Regions from separate parts of the Homo sapiens genome. Here region 2 is linked to region 1. Evidence: promoter capture Hi-C in 16 types of primary human blood cells and fetal thymus (Javierre and others, 2016). All regions are on one chromosome and are shown on one strand. Each heading gives the region's core, a stretch centred on a gene start or on the middle of the fragment in contact. The rest is flanking DNA. Distances are from core to core; before and after follow the strand shown.

Region 1 (3,140 bases), core at 164-2,663:
CAGGGATAATAACATCAGCAAAGATTTAATGGACATTTTGCAAAGGGAGATACTCTGATCTTTAGAGCTGATGGCTTAGAGAACTGGGAATCTCATCACTAGAAATAAAGGTGAGAACAAGATACCTACTGAAGTTGTTCAGTACCATCTGAGAAAATGTTAGTGAAAAAGCATAAGCCTTTGCTAACTCTTTCTAATTAGACTTCTCCCAGAATACACTTTATCCTCCAATAATTTTGCAGTAAAAAATAAAATAAAATAAAATAAAACCTTATTATACACACAACCCGTTAGTGGGTTTTCGGGAGAGCAAAGAGTAATGCCCAGGAAAGACTGCACTGTACTGTCACCAAGTACCTCAAGAGCTGTGTGTCGTGACAGCTAAAAAGAGAAAATGAAACAGATTCCATGCTGCCAACAGGCAAGTAAAAAGAAGACAAATTGGTCTGGGTCCCAGGAAGGAATAATCTAAACAGAGTTTTTGTGGACTATAAAACATGGTCCCCTCCTGTGGAAAATAATATTTTGTTTCCACCTACAGTTTTCTTCAAGCAATTACAAGGGCACTAAAAGTGAGAGATTACCTCAGGTGTATAAAAACGAGAATTTCTTTCAGAAATGACTGAGAAAGGGTTCTACCGAGGTTAGACCTCCTACTTTAGAAGCTGTGAGTAAACTTATTTTCAAGTCTAAGTTTCGTGTGAAAGTTTAGCCTCAGAATGAAGGGAACGTTGATATCTTTACTCCCACAATATTTATCGGATACGGAAGTTGAAAACCTGCCTAAATAGGTAACAAATCTTCTGCAAAAGAATGTTACACTCTATAAAGGGATGGGGTAGAGTAAAACGCCAGAAATGAACCTAAACATGCTTCAAGGCTTCCCCACTGTTTAACAAGGAAAAGGGAGTATCCTTAGCAATACTTTTAACTGTCCAGATAGGTAAGTCTTCAAAGTTAAGAACCGCTTCCAGGAAAGTAGCAGGGAAGTGTTTGCATGTGCCTATTCTGGAAAGCCAGGCCGTCCGGTTAAGGTCCCTCAACCGTCCCTACCTATACGTTTTCCGTCTGGCGTGAAATCAGCAGCAAAAGCCCGCTATCTTCCGAAGGAGGCCCCACAAAAATGGCGTCTGTCCCACCCCAATGTGACCAAATAGGGCATTCCCAGCTCCTTTCCCGAACACAGTGCTGGGGTCGCAGTGGCCAGTACCGCCGTTAGAACAGTCACTGCGGCCTGGAACAGGCGTCGGGGTTACTGGCAGAGCAAGCCGAGGTATAGTCCCAGAGGCTTACAGCAGTACCTTTATTCTTGGGCATGGCGGTGATGACAGCCTCGTGAGACCTCTTCCGACTCCTTTCTGGCGGTTACTACTCTAAGAGCCGACTGAACTAAGATGCAGCAGGTGGGTGCGCAGAAGAGGCTGGCTACAGAGCTCTCTAATAAACTGCTGACGCGCACTCTCTGGCGTCACCAAAAGGCGACGCAGCTGATTACGATGCTTTTCCCCGCCTCTCTTCGGCTGAGGCACGGCCAAATGACTGACACCTAGTAGACTCCATCAGGATACCGGAGAGTTTGCTGCAGGATGAATAAACAGGAAGCGGGGCGGGACTCAGCATGGAGAAGGTGGAGTCAAGGATGAAATGGGCGGGGCCCTGGAGTATTCTCCTTTGCTAAAAAACGGTCTTCCAGTTTCAGAAGTTCGTGGGTCATTTAACTGTAAACGCCTAAATTTTAAGAGAGCCCTTACTCTTATACAGTGAATTTGGAGGACTGGCTTAGGACAAGGCCCTCTATGTTCAGAATGTTTATCACTTTTCTCTCTTTTTTTTTTTTTTTTTTGACAACGAAGTTTCGCTCTTGTTGCCCATGCTGGAGTGCAGGGGCGCGATCTGCCCGTCTAATTTTTGTATTTTTAGTAGAGATGGGGTTTCACCATGTTGGCCAGGCTCTCAAACCCCTGACCTAGTGATCCTCCCGCCTCTGCCGCCCAAATTCCTGGGATTGCAGTAGTGAGCCACCGCGCCCGGCCTATTTTTTTCAGTCTTATCTTCTCTACCTCACCACCTCACAGTAAAGCATGTAAGTACAGAGGCCGCATCTGTTGCTTACAATTGCTAGCACCCAGCGGAATACTGACAAAAAGTAGACAGTAAATATATACAGGAAATGGAAAGTAAATATACATAGGAAGGAGTGAGACTAAGCATCTGAATCTTATAATAAATCATGGCTTAACCGAATGTCTCAAATGGACTGGCTGTGGAGGTCAAATTATTTCAAGACAAATTCCATTTGATTATGGTATACAATCATTTAATTTACTGGATTTGTTGTGTGTGTACTATTATGTTTAGAATCTTAGCATCTGTGTTAAGATATATTGGCTTGTATCGTGTGATGACTTTGACTTTAGGATCAATATAATCCCGGCTTCACAGAATGAACTGTGTAGTGTCCCTTTTTCTTCTGTGTTTTTGGACACATTCGAGGATTGATGTAAATTTTTTAAATGGTCCTAGGCCTTAGTTTGGATTATGAATTCGTGCTGTATTTATTCCCAAGTCAGTTCTGGTAGTTTGTATGTACCAGAAATTTGTTCATTTATTCTAAATTATAAAACTTGTTGGGCGTATAATTGGCCATCATATACAAAGTATAGTATCTTCCTAATCCTTTTTTTTCCCTTTCTGCAAGGTAAATAGTATGTATGTATCAGGACTTTGTTCATTTATTCTAAATTATCTTACTTGTTGGGCATATAATTGGCCATCATATACATAGTGTAGTATCCTCCTAATCCTTTTTTTTTCTTTCTTTTTTTCTGCAAGGTAAGTGGTAGTACCCTGATCATCACTACTGGTTTTAAGGAATTTAAGTCTTCATGGTTTTGTTTTTAAAAGCCTAGTGATGAAGCCATAACATTAAAAATAAAATTTTCTCTGAACCCAGAAGTCCTCTCCACAAAGACAGTAGAGAATGAAATCAGTTTTACTGTTAAAAATATGAAATATGAATTTAATGTACATTGTAGAAAATCAACCAAGAGATTACAAAGTCAAAAACAAATCTCGCCTTTTATATAGCTAAGCATCAAGGTAGTCTTCAAGATAGACAAATTTTCTTAAAAGAAATTACT
Region 2 (3,140 bases), core at 346-2,845, 560 kb before region 1:
ATTTGCCATCCCTCGCTGTAAAGTTGTTAAGCTTCCTGAGAATTTGCAAGTCAAAGGTATGATTTTTGGGCCATCGACTGTCATTATCTAATGTGTATTGGGACCAGGCCATGTTACAGTAAAAGACTAAATGCTTCTGTCAAGTTTTGCAAGATTGTGAATGAGACAGTACAGTGGAGAGGGCTTAGGAATGTGGGATTGTTTGGTGAGAAAAACTAGAAAGATTTTTAGACAGGGCCTATTTCAGCAACTTTCTTCTGATATCAGGGGCTGCCTGAGTATTGAACCTGTTTTTTACTGAACTGGAAGACAGGGAAGTGTGTCTTACTAAAGCTTCTCTCAGTCTCTCCAAGAAGGCAGGTGGATTTCCATATATTTTCTGGTGCAACTCATACAGTTGAGAGTAATTAAGAGGTCTTGTTCTGCTTATTTCCAAGTCTTTTTAAATGTATATCAGAAATTCTTTTAATTTCCACTCATTTATGAGATCACTCAGGCTCCAATTAGGGCTTTTAAGGGAGCCTCATTTTTCTTACTATTGGGAATGGGGACCCTGTCTCTCCTTATCCTCTTTTATCCCTTAGATTTTTTCCTTTCAAGATTTTTAGACTGGCTATAGGAGTTACGCTGTTTATCTCCAAATGTTTCTGCTGCCTGCAAGACTGCCTGCTTTTCTGTAACAGTTAGGGTTTTGGCTTAAATGTAGCATAGCATCTCTCCATGTAACATGAAACATTTGGGTCAAATTTTGGAAAACCTCTCTATGTTTATTAGGGTCATCAGAGAACCTACCTAGTTCCCCCTTTATTTGTGTAAGTTCCTGCAATGAAAAGAAAACTTGAGGTGGTGATTAATAAGGGGCATTCTGAGATGGTTTCTTTAGAAATTGCTTTTCTAACTCTGCGGAATTATTCTCCATGGGACTACCTGCCATGACTGTTAAAAAAGCTGGGTTGATCTCATAATGCTTGTGAAGGTTTAGTAAAAAATGTCATGCTCTCGTGCAAAAGAAAATGGTCACCTTTTTCTTCAAAGTCATCGGGTCAAAGTAGTTCTAAAAGTTTCAGAGTGCACTCAGAGGGGTGCAGATTAAAGTTGGACTGTCACCTCTCTAGAAAAATAGACAAGAAAAGAGGCATCCCTCTGTCTCCTGCTTTTTTTCAGTGTGACCCAGGGAGGAGAAGAAGACAGTAGGAGTGTCCCACAGACTGTTATTTCTCCTTGGCTCCTGGGTCCCAGCATTGTGTTGAATATGCCACCAGTGGTTTCAAGTGTGACCTTCAAATGATGGTAGCAGAGGAGCTAAGCAATGGGGCAAGCCATGCTCACCCAAGTGGCTTTAGTCCTCTGATGGTGATTATTCTTTGACCTCGTAGACTTGGGTCTGGGTCACTCCTTGATGGATGGGTCTCAGGAAAGACTATGTGACAGTTGCATCTGGGCATCTGCTGGACTTCCCTCCTTAATGGAGGAAGTGTTTTAGTATTATCTTTGGTTTCCCTTGCTATGGCCCTAGTGAAACATTGAAACCCCAAAGAATGAGACTGATTCACTTTCAAACATAAAACCCATTTCTGGTGTAAATGCCAATGTAGCTGAATGTAGAACAGGTGCCTTAAAAGAACATATAAATGGAATGGCCGTCCTCTTACTGTTAAAGCTGGAGCTTTGCTGTTTTCAAATGGGGCATGAAGCCTAGTCTCTAATAGAGGGATATAAAAGGGAGATAACCAGAGTTTTTAGACAAAGGGCCAACAAGGCTCCCAGTGGGGAAAAATAAATCCCATTCCCCTACGTAGTGCTGTAGGGTCTGAAATATTAGGTAAAAACTGTGACTCCATCCTTTCAGGCAGAAGTTAGAAAAAGAGGTTTCAGTTTAATTGGCTGTTCCTATAATATTCCTCCCAGCACAAGAAAATTAACTTGTTTCATAAAGAATTGTTTAAATTTATTGGGCAATGCTGGGATTTTACATGGAGGGAAAAACCAACCCAAATGGGGAGGGAAAAACCAACCCAAATGTAGAGGGAAGAAACAATCCAAATGGAGAGAAAAGAGGATATTCACTTGGGGTGAAATATTTGACCATATAGTGTCATGAATGTCTATTATTGAGGGGTAGAAGAGACCTTACTAAGTGAATACTTAGACAGAAATCTTGAACTCCTCTGTCTCGAGGAAATCACAAAAACACAGTTTCTTGAAGTTACATTCCTGGTTACAAAAAAAGACACCAACTTACTCTACCAAGCAAGATTATATCTCTAGGCTGAAAAAACACCTGCAACATTGTATACAATGAAGAGATAGGTGACATAATAGCCATGGGAGAAAAGAAGGAAAATGTAAGAGGGAAGGTCCTTGTGCTGACACACTGGTGGGCTGTCAAGGATTGGAGTAGTCTTCAGATAACACTGAGGACCTTCAGATAACACTGAGGGTTAGTCCCAGCCAGAAATCTTGAATTTTCCTAGGACCTTCTTCCAATCCCACATGTTGGCTTAGGTCCTCTGTGAAAGGAAACTAGATTGGAATAGATGAGAAGACTCATAGATGAATGTAAATAGTTAAAGGTAAAAGTCGGCTCTTACTCACCCTTCTGATGAATTCCCTCCTTCCAAGCCAATGGATCAAAATATGTTGCATTCTTGCCAATGCACCTTAATTTGGAAGTTTCTTGTTGTCTGAAGAAGTACTCCAGGTTTTTTGTTCTTTATCCAAGACAAAAAAATTAAGAATTGTAAACACAAAGATAAAGTTGGAGTGAAAGTTTAATATGAAAAAAAAAAAAAAAAGCTCTCCACAGCAGAGAGGAGTCTGAGTGCATTGCTGGGTTACATCTGAATTCGAAAGCTTTTATAAGAAACTCCTCTCATGTCTGTAGCAGTTTGAGTAACTTCTCTTATCAGTAAACCTGTGTGTGCAACTCCCCTTATCTTATGTAGCTGTGGGTATGCCTCCAGGCAAGCACACAGTGCCACTTATTTTCCTTGTATAAAGTGGGTTGTTTTTGATAAGCCATCCTCAGCCCTGTGCATATTTCCACCACATATATGCCTGAAAGGGAGATACCTTTTTTTTTTCCCTAGGATTTCACTAATTATACAAATTGCTTATCTGTGTGCAGGTGCAGCCTGAGT

Evidence for each region. The method cuts DNA at HindIII sites, captures the fragments that hold promoters and counts their contacts. A CHiCAGO score of 5 or more calls a contact.
Region 2: a fragment that was not itself captured here is called in contact with the fragment with the promoter of EIF1AY in region 1 in 2 of 17 cell types (naive CD4 T cells and neutrophils); the score reaches 5.8 in naive CD4 T cells.

The regions. Positions count from the first base shown.
Region 1 is chrY:20,574,049-20,577,188 of GRCh38, reverse strand. EIF1AY (eukaryotic translation initiation factor 1A Y-linked) reads right to left here and starts at 1,413. Exons shown (of 7, transcript NM_004681.4): 1 at 1,302-1,413. The coding sequence starts at 1,317. It overlaps TTTY10 (testis expressed transcript, Y-linked 10), which reads left to right and starts at 1,674. Exons shown (of 10, transcript NR_197944.1): 1 at 1,674-2,083. The HindIII fragment of the contact is 11,947 bases long and covers 1-3,140 here.
Region 2 is chrY:21,138,324-21,141,463 of GRCh38, reverse strand. LOC105377225 (a long non-coding RNA gene) reads right to left here and starts at 2,831. Exons shown (of 7, transcript XR_007068465.1): 1 at 2,596-2,831. The HindIII fragment of the contact is 2,520 bases long and covers 336-2,855 here.